Linked DNA regions of Homo sapiens: region 1 is linked to region 2. The links are contacts of gene promoters, found by promoter capture Hi-C in human tissues and cell types (Jung and others, 2019). All regions are on one chromosome and are shown on one strand. The core of a region is centred on a gene start or on the middle of the fragment in contact, and the rest is flanking DNA. Distances in the headings are between cores, read along the strand shown.

Region 1 (4,926 bases), core at 908-3,407, 36 kb after region 2:
AAATCCAAATTCATGAGAGAAAGTTCTTCTTTGTAGAAGAATTATAGCTAATGAATGCAGAAGAATAGACTTGGGGAATTTCCATTTTGCAACCTCTGATGAAATAAAAGATCTAACCAATAATCATTAAAATCATTTTGTTTTGGGTTCGTAGAGAACTCAATAAGGGGAGGCTTGCAATGACAACATCCGAACTGTCAGCAGTGAATATCACTAAAATTGGAACTGTTAAAAACCATAATACAAATACAATATGCACGTCTTGTTTAAATCCTGGTTCAACCAAAGAACAAAATTTTTCAGGCAAATTGGGAATATTGAACACACACTGACATTAAATAATATCAAACAACTGTTATTAATTTTGCTGCATTAAATAACAATACTATGGTTAGTTTAAAAGAAAGTATTTGCTAACATTACATCCACTAGAAGATTAATAAGAATGTAGTAATCAGTTGTAGTTTTAACAATTCAGTCATAAAGTATCACTGCAGAAATTAGAAACATGTAATGCCACTCAGACTAAAAAAAAAATTAAGGTTGATACATGTACAAGTGGAAATAAATTTATCTCTTGTCAAATGATAACAAGAACTTAAGAGATTATAACAGACCATCAACAGCAAATTATAGGAATAGGGCCCTAATTCAAAATTTTTAAAAAATGTAATAGCAAATTAATTATAACTTATATAGTCATTGTTAAGTTAACCACCAAGATGGGAAATTTAATCAGAATCTCCATGATGCCAATAATATTCCTAAAGAAAATACATTCAAGTTGCTTCCAAGATGGCCGAATAGGAAGAGCTCCAGTCTGCAGCTCCCAGTGAGATGGACACAGAAGATGGGTGATTTCTGCATTTCCAACTGAGCTACCTGGTTCATCTCATTGGGACTGGTTGGACAGTGGGTGCAGCCCACGGAGGGTGAGCCAAATCAGGGCGGGGCATCACCTCATCCAGGAAGTGCAAGGAGTCAGGGGATTTCCCTCTCCTAGCCAAGGGAAGCCGTGACAGACTGTACCTGGAGAGATGGTACACTCTTGACCAAATACTGTGCTTTTCCCATGGTTTTAACAACCGGCAAACCAGGACATACCCTCCCATGCCTGGCTTGGTGGGTCCCCTGCCCACAGAGCCTTGCTCACTACTAGCACAGCTGTCTGAGATCAACCTGTGACACTGCAGCTTGATGGGAGGAGGAGGGTCTGCTATTGCTGAGGCTTGAGTAGCTCACAATGTAAACAAAGTGGCCGGGAAGCTTTAACTGGGTGGAGCCTGCCACAGCTCAGCAAGGATTACTGCCTCTCTAGATTCCACCTCTGGAGGCAGGGCATAGACCAAAGGCAGAAGACAGCTTCTGCAGACAAACACAACCCTGTCTGACAGCTCTGAAGAGAATAGTGGTTCTCTCAACATGGCGTTTGAGCTCCGAGAACAGACGGACTGCCTCCTCAAGTATGTCTTGAGCCTGACCCCCTGTGTATCCTGACTGGGAGACACCTCCCAGGAGGGGCCTACAGACACCTCAAACAGGCAGGTGCCCCTCTGGGACGAAGCTTCCAGAGGAAGGATCAGGCAGCAATATTTGCTATTCTTCAGCCTCCGCTGGTGATACCCAGGCAAATAGAGTCTGGAGTGGACCTCCAGCAAACTCCAACAGACCTGCAGCTGAGGGGCCTGATTGTTAGGAGGAAAACTAACAAACAGAAAGGAATAGCATCAACATCAACAAAAAGGGCATCCACACCAAAACCCCATCTGTAGGTCACCATCAAGACCAAAGGTAGATAAAACCACAAAGATGGGGAGAAATCAGACCAGAAAAGCTGAAAATTCCAAAAACCAGAGTGCTTCTTCTCCTCCAAAGGACCGCAGCTCCTCACCAGTAAGGGAACAAAACTGGATGGAGAGCGTGTTTGACAAGTTGACAGAAGTAGGCTTCAGAAGGTCACTAATAACAAACTTCTCTGAGCTAAAGAAGCATGTTCTAACCCATCGCAAGGAAGCTAAAATCCTTGAAAAAAGGTTAGACGAATGGCTAACTAGAATAAACAGTGTAGAGAAGACCTAAAATGACCTGATAGAGCTGAAAACCACAGCACAAGAACTTCGTGACGCGTGCACAAGCTTCAATAGCCGATTCGATCAAGTGAAAGAAAGGATATCAGTGATAGAAGATCAAATTAATGAAGTAAAGTGAGAAGGCAATATAAGAGAAAAAAGAGTGAAAAGAAATGAGCAAAGCCTCCAAGAAATATGGACTATGTGAAAAGACCAAATATACATTTGATTGGTGTACCAGAAAGTGACAGGGAGAATACAACCAAGTTAGAAAACACTCTTCAGGATATTATCCAGGAGAACTTCCCTAACGTAGCAAGGCAGGCCAACACTCAAATTCAGGAAATACAGAGAACACCACAAGGGTACTCCTTGAGAAGAGCAACCCCAAGACATATAATTGTCAGATTCACCAAGGTTGAAATGAAGGAAAAAATGTTAAGGGCAGCCAGAGAGAAAGGTCGGGTTACCCACAAAGGGAAGCCCATTACACTAACAGCGGATCTCTTGGCAGAAACTCTACAAGCCAGAAGAGAGTGGGGGCCAATATTCAACATTTTTAAAGAAAAGAATTTTCAACCCAGAATCTCATATCCAGCCAAACTAAGCTTCATAAGTGAAGGAGAAATAAAATCTTTACAGATGAGCAAATGCTGAGAGATTTTGTCACCACCAGGCCTGCCTTACAAGAGTTCCTGAAGGAAGCACTAAACATGGAAAGGAACAACTAGTACCAGCCACTGCAAAAACATGCCAAATGGTAAAGATCACTGACACTATGAGGAAACTGGATCAATTAATGGGCAAAATAACCAGCTAACATCCTAATAACAGGATCAAATTCACACATAAAAATATTAACCTTAAATGTAAATGGGCTAAATGCTCCAATTAAAAGACACAGACTGGCAGATTAGAAAAAGAGTCAAGACCCATTGGTGTACTGTATTCAGGAGACCTCTCTCACGTGCAAGGATACACATAGGATGAAAATAAAGGGATGGAGGAAGATCTACCAAGCAAATGGAAAGCAAAAAAAAAAAAAAAAAAAAACAAGGGTTGCAATCTTACTCTCTGATAAAACGGACTTTAAACTGACAAAGATCAAAAGAGACAAGGAAGGCCACACATAATGGTAAACGGATCAATTCAACAGGAAAAGCTAACTATCCTAAATATATATGCGTCCAATACAGGAGCACTCAATTCATAAAGCAAGTCCTTAGAGACCTACAAAGAGACTTAGACTGCCACCCAATAATAATAGGAGAGTTTAACACCCCACTGTCAATATTAGACAGATCAATGAGACAGAAGGTTAACAAGGATAGCCAGGACTTCAACTCAGCTCTGGTCCAAGTGGACCTAGTAGACATCTACAGAACCCTCCACCCCAAGTCAACAGAATATACATTCTTCTCAGCACCACATTACACTTAGTCTAAAATTGACCACATAATTGGAAGTAAAACACTCCTCAGAAAATGTAAAAGAACAGAAATCACAACAAACTGTCTCTCAGACCACAGTGCAATCAAACTAGAACTCAGGATGAATAAACTCCCTCAAAACCACATAACTACATCAAAACTGAACAACCTGCTCCTGAATGACTACTGGGTAAATAACAAAATGAAGGCAGAAATAAAGATATTCTTTGAAACCAATGAGAACAAAGAGACAATGTACCACAATCTCTGGGACACATTTAAAGCAGTGTGTAGAGGGAAATTTATAGCACTAAATGCCCACAAGAGAAAGCAGGAAAGATCTAAAATTGACACCCTAGGCCAGGCGCAGCAGCTCACACCTGTAATCCCAGCCCTTTGGAAGGCCAAGGTGGGTGGATCACGAGTTCAAGAGATCAAGACCATCCTGGCCAACCAACATGGTGAAACCCTGTCTCTAATAAAAATACAAAAATTAGCTAGGCATAGTGGTGCATGCCTGTAGTCCCAGCTACTCAGGAGTCTGAGGCAGGAGAATCACTTGAACCTGGGAGGGAGAGGTTGCAGTGAACTGATATCATGCCACTGTGCTCCAGCCTGGGCGACAGAGCAAGACTCTGTCTCAAAAAAATAAATATGTAAAAAAAAACAAAATCGACACCATAACATCACAACTAAAAGAACTAGAGAAGCAAGAGCAAACAAATGCAAAAGCTAGCAGAAGGCAAGAAATAACTAAGATCAGAGCAGAACTAAAGGAGATAGAGACACAGAAAACTCTTCAAAAAATCAATGAATCCAGGAGCTGGTTTTTTGAAACTATCAACAAAATAGATAGACCACTAGCCAGAGTAATAAAGAAGAAAAGAGAGAAGAATCAAATAGACACAATAAAAAAGTGATAAAGGGGATATCACCACTGATCCCACAGAAATACAAACTACCATCAGAGAATACTATAAACACCTCTATGCAAATAAACTAGAAAATCTGGAAGAAATAGATAAATTCCTTGTCACATACACCCTCCCAAGACTAAACCAGGAAGAAGTTGAATCTCTGAATAGACCAATAACAGGATCTGAAATTGAGGCAATAATTAATATTCTACCAACCAAAAAAAGTCCAGGACCAGATGGATTCACAGCCGAATTCTACCAGAGGTACAAAGAGGAGCTGGTACCACTCCTGAAACTATTTCAATCAATAGAAAAACAGAGAATCCTCCCTAACTCATTTTATGAGGCCAGCATCATCCTGATACCAAAGCCTGGCAGAGACACAATGAAAAAAGAGAATTTTAGGCCAATATCCCTGATGAACATTGATGCAAAAATCATCAATAAAATACTGGCAAACTAAATCCAGCAGCACATCAAAAAGCTTATCCACCACAATCAAGTCGGCTT
Region 2 (5,313 bases), core at 1,547-4,046:
CACCATATCTTGATCATCTGCTTGCGGAGATGCAGGGCCCACATAAATGAAGAGAAGGGGTCCATAGTATAAAGAGACAGAGAAGAGATGGGCTCCACAGGTGGAAAAGGCTTTCCTTACACCTTTATCAGATTTCTTTTTTAAGATTGCGAAGAGAACAAATGTATAAGATACAAGAATAGTCACAATGCTGAATACCTGAATTGAACCTGAGAAAATAAAAACCATTAGAAAATTAATAGAAGAATCAGTACAAGAAATCTTAGACAATGGGATAGTGTCACAGTAAATGTGATGTACTATGTTGGAGTTACAGAAGGTTAGTCTGAATAAAAATCCTTCATGGATTAAAGCATGAAGAATACCACCTACATATGACAAGATTAATAGCCGGATGCACAGTCCATTGGTCATAATGGCTGGATAAAGTAAAGGTTTGCATATGGCTACATAGCGATCATATGCCATCGTTGCCAAGAGAAAACATTCCGTGGTTACACTGATTGCAAACGAAAAAAACTGTATCTTGCATTCAGAGAGAGATATCATCTTACTCTTAGCTAAGAAGTTATTCAGCATCTTTGGGGTCACTGTGGATGATATCCAAGCATCCACAAAAGCTAAATTCCCAAGGAGTAAGTACATTGGGATATGAAGGTGAGGGTCTTTCCAGATGACAGCAATCAGACCAAGATTCCCCATGATGGTGATGAGATATATTACCAAGAATGCCAGGAACAGGGGTATTTTCCACTGTGGTTGATATAAAAATCCTGTGAGAACAAACTCTGTCAGCAATGTTGCATTTTCCTCTTCCATGTCCTCACAGCATGCCCTCTAAAATAAAATGCAACAAATGAAAGGGAACATTTGCAATGGCATTATCAGTTGAAATTGGGGAAGAGGTGCTGAAGGAAAACCTAAAATGATCAGAACCCTCTCAATTTTTTGATCAGTCCTATAGCTGATGAATCTCTATTTGTTGCAATAAAGACATGAAAAAATGATATATTTTGGTTTGAAACTGTGCAGTAATTAGCAGATTTAGGTAAAACAAGAGGCATTCTCTGTATGCACAACATTTATATGGACACTATTGAGTGCAGTAGAAAAATTGTTTGACTGGCATATGATACAATGTCAACAGGAAAGATTTTTGTACGGTCTGAATTAAAAATAAATAAAATAAATGCCATGTGAAGTATCTTAAACTTTATTCTTCATACAATAAGCATGTGCCAAAAATTTTAAGATGGGAAATTACATCCTAATTTTTTTTAATTTAGTTTTTGATAGTGTAGAAAATATGCTGCAAGAAGAAGAAACTGTACTCAGGGATATTAATTAGAAACTTGTTAGTAAGGCCCAGGCAATCCCAAATCACATTACACATAAAAATTATCTGAGTGAGTTTTTATGAAAAATATGTTATGAGGTTTTAATGTAGAAGTTATTTAAGGAATTAGGTCTGGGGATCTGCATTTTGAAAATACCCTCCGGGGGATTCAAATGCATGTTAAATGTATGGTCTTGGTGTGATATGACATTGAAAGAGACAGTAAGACAAAGAAATAGATTCTAAAGAATTCAGAATGTAGAGTCTCTAGTATTCTGTGACATATTTTGTAGGCAGTAAGTGGTCAGTGAAGGAGAGAGGAGTCCCTTGGTGACTGGGAAGATGGATATTAAACATTGAGAACTCAGGTGTGCTGACAAGTTTTTGGAGTGAGCATCATCTGGACAACTAGATGTGTTCCAATCAGTAATATGAGCCTATTAGAGCTCAATAGAAATGATTGCTTGGATTCATTGTGGTAGTCAAAGGCAGTCAAAGGCATAGTTAAAGATGATGCATCCTTGGAGTGTAAAACAGAACCAAAAGGAATGGCAAGAAAATCAACTTGAGCAAGTTATATTAAGGAGGTAACAAGGTGGACATATGTCCTGTAAATGGCCAAGGTGTGATCTCCTTTTTTGCCATCGAAATCATAGTGGCTGTCAGAGGTAACATACTGCCAAAAGAACTAGAAACTCATTTTCCCATTTTTCTTACATCTAAAGTGAAGGGACATGATCTAGGATGGCCAATTAAATACACTGATCCTACATTTGGAATATGGAGAGAGGGACAAAAGATATTGGTTTCAAGGCAGCCAAAGCCAAAATACCAGGACTTTACTTAATGCAACCTTTATTCACATCAACAAAATTTACAGTGTGAGCTCTCAAATTATTGTCAAACATGAGTGTAAGGATACAGGAGTTAATATGTAAGTGACTCACCTTAAAAGTTTTAATTGGAGAATGTGGTTGATTCAGAGGAATGGGTATTTATATCAGAATAATTCCAAGAAATAATTCTAAGAATCATTATTATCTGAATCTTTAAACCAAGTTTTAGTTGTTTAATGCCCTAATTTATATAAACTCATCATAATAAGATTAACAAAATAGCAAAATATTAAAGGAAAAATTCAGTCTTATAACTCTTTATCCATATTAGAGTCATAAAACTAAAATATAAAAATAGTCCAGTCAGAGTCATCCAGTTTCTGACTTTCTATTATGACAACTTGTTACCCAATCTAAAATTTTAATGAATTAAATGGCATTATCAACATTTCTATAAATTATAATAAAAATTAGAGAAGTTATTTCTTCCTTACCCATATATTGAAGGAAATTGTGGATATCCTTTAAACACGTTGTGCTTTCTAAACAAAAATACATACAGTAGCACAGCAATGTCAATAATACAGGTAGCCATTCATGGCATATTCATTCTTTTTGAAGGTTTCTTTTTCCAAGCATAGAAAAATGTTGTTTATTAAATATGCTTTGAGCACATAAATGACCCAGTTGTGCCACTAGGGTCTTTTGCCAGAAGAGAAAGGAATGAAAAACTGAAATTCTCATAACAGTGTCAGAGGACTCCCTGTAGGACAAATTGAAGCTGTTCTAATGGGCATTGTGCATTTGCACAAGTGTAAGTTCAGGTTGTCCCCAAGGGCATTACAAACTTCTGGAATCACAAACATCATTTCATGGTAGACACTTCTAGTTTTAACAATTGAAATAACACTTTATGTTACTATTTACCACCATGGATGACACTTCTGGCATATTTGTTCAAACTTTAGTTTATATGTAAAATTTACTGTTAGTGCTTTAATTAGTATAGTCTTATTTGAAGTAACCAAAACATAATTTTAATAAAGCCAAAGTTCTAGATCCTCTTTGGGAGCAACCTCAAATACAATTGTCCTTCCCATGCAAATTTCAGACATGCAAATTTTAGACATATATTTAGATCCCCCATTATAAGCTAAAATCCAATGGGAAATTTTACTAGGAAGAAGACAAAAAGCAAATGTAAAACAAAGCCAGGGAGTGGCTTGCAGTGGGAGGTGTCCTAGGTCTGTGCTTCTCAAACTATAATGCCTATGATTTTCCTAGTGATGTTGTCAAAACGCAGATTCTGTTTCAGTAATTCTGGGGTGGGTCTCTCAAGAGCCTTTATTTTTAACAAAGCAGTGCCTGTGGACATTTGCATCCAACAGGTCTTCATGGTGGGAAGACCTAGATTATCAGAAAGCCTTGATCATTGAAGAAACAACAAATAATAAATGTGGCTGGTATGCAAAGAGAGAATCAGGAAGGACCAAGTGTGTTCAGGGAGGCCAGCATGGGTGGGACCTTGTCGGGTAGTTCAAAGATATGTTCTTTACCCCAACTTACAGGAAAACCAATGAACTATTATTGAACGATTTTGAAAATGGTGATAGCATGTTCAGAATTTTCTTTAGAGCATTAACAGAATAACATGTTAAGGAGCATCCATTCAAAAAAGAAAACCTAATTTACCTACTTGTAATATTTATATTTCATATTTAAATAGTGACATGTACCTTTCTTGACAGCAAAAGTATTTATTAAAGAAATAAAATTGCCTGCACTTGGATTATGGATGGTGATATGGTTTGGATTTGCTGCTCTACCCAAATTTCATGTTGAATTCCAATCCCCAATGTTGGAGAGGGTCCAGGTGAGTGGTGATTGGATCATAGGGGTGGACTTCCCCTTTCGGTTCTCATGATAGTGAGTTCTCACAAGATCTGGTTGTTTAAAAGTGTGTAACACCTCCTCCCTTCTCTCTCTTCCTCCTTCTCTGGACATGTACAACATACATGCTTCCCCTTCAGCTTCCCCCATGATTGTAAGTTTCCTGAGGCCCCCTCAACCATGCTTCCTGTACAGACTGTGCAACTGTGAGTCCATTAAACCTCTTTTCATTATAAATTACCCAGTCTCTGATATTTCTTTATAGTAATGCAAGAACAGACTAACGGACTAACGCAAAGGTAAATTATTAATGTCCCTACTTCTGCTACACTGCCTTATCTCTGCAAGCCTTCAGCAATAGCTTCATAGGGAGTTTCTTATAATCGATTGACAGTGGAAGAGAAGACTCAGACCTGGATACAAATGGTTGTGCACCATATTCAGGCGGGTGGCTGCAGCACTACTGCTCCTTTCTGGGACATTTTGGAAGGACCATGGTGAAGGGAAATCCTCCCAGTTAGAAAAATTTTAACTGATGTACTTGGTTGTCCAATTTGCTTAAAAGGAGAAATAAATAAATGTGTGATTATGTATCAATTTATAGGCTATGACTAATGGTTAGGCTGGATGATCAGGGACTTGGAAGGAGCATAATTAGAATACTGGTGAAAAGGATATTTGAGAGAAGGTGCTTGGAGAGATGTCTCTAACTGGGTATAAATTATGTAGATATCTGCTATGGTTTGAATGTTTCCCCTCCAAAATTCAGGTGTTGAAACAATGGCCCGTGTGACAGTATTAAGAGGTGGGGCTTTTAGTAGGTGCTTAGGTCATAAGGGCTTCTTTCCTTGTTGATGGGCTAAAGCCCTTATAAAAAAGGTTTCACACAGCCTTCAGTTTCCTTGCTCTTCTGTCTTTCACCACATGAGAACCCAGTGTTCCTCTCCTCCAGAAGAGCTTTCAAGGCACCATCTTAGAAGTAGGGATGGGACCCCTACGAGACATCAAGGCACCATCTTAGAAGCAGGGACGGGACCCCTATGAGACATCCAAACCTGTCAGCATCTGGATCTTGAAAATACCAGCTCCTAGAGCTATAATAAAATAAATTTTCATCATTTATAAATATTTAGTCTCTGGCATTCTGTTATAGCAGCACAAATAGGTCAAGACAGAAATAGGTACCAAGAAGTGGAGTGTCCCTATAACAAATACCTAAAGTGTGGAAGTGTCTTGGAAAGAGGTAATGAG

Evidence for each region. Contacts are between HindIII fragments. The study calls those that stand out against the background at their distance.
Region 1: a fragment that was not itself captured here is called in contact with the fragment with the promoter of OR5H1 in region 2 in 2 of the 25 tissues and cell types used here (adrenal gland and hippocampus).

Annotation. Positions count from the first base shown.
Region 1 is chr3:98,092,420-98,097,345 of GRCh38, reverse strand. No RefSeq gene overlaps it. Among named protein-coding and RNA genes, the nearest start is that of OR5AC2, 7.7 kb to the right of the region's middle. The HindIII fragment of the contact is 3,265 bases long and covers 525-3,789 here.
Region 2 is chr3:98,128,204-98,133,516 of GRCh38, reverse strand. It overlaps OR5H1 (olfactory receptor family 5 subfamily H member 1), which reads right to left and starts at 2,796. Exons shown (of 2, transcript NM_001005338.2): 1 at 2,667-2,796; 2 at 1-837. The coding sequence starts at 819. The HindIII fragment of the contact is 17,473 bases long and covers 1-5,313 here.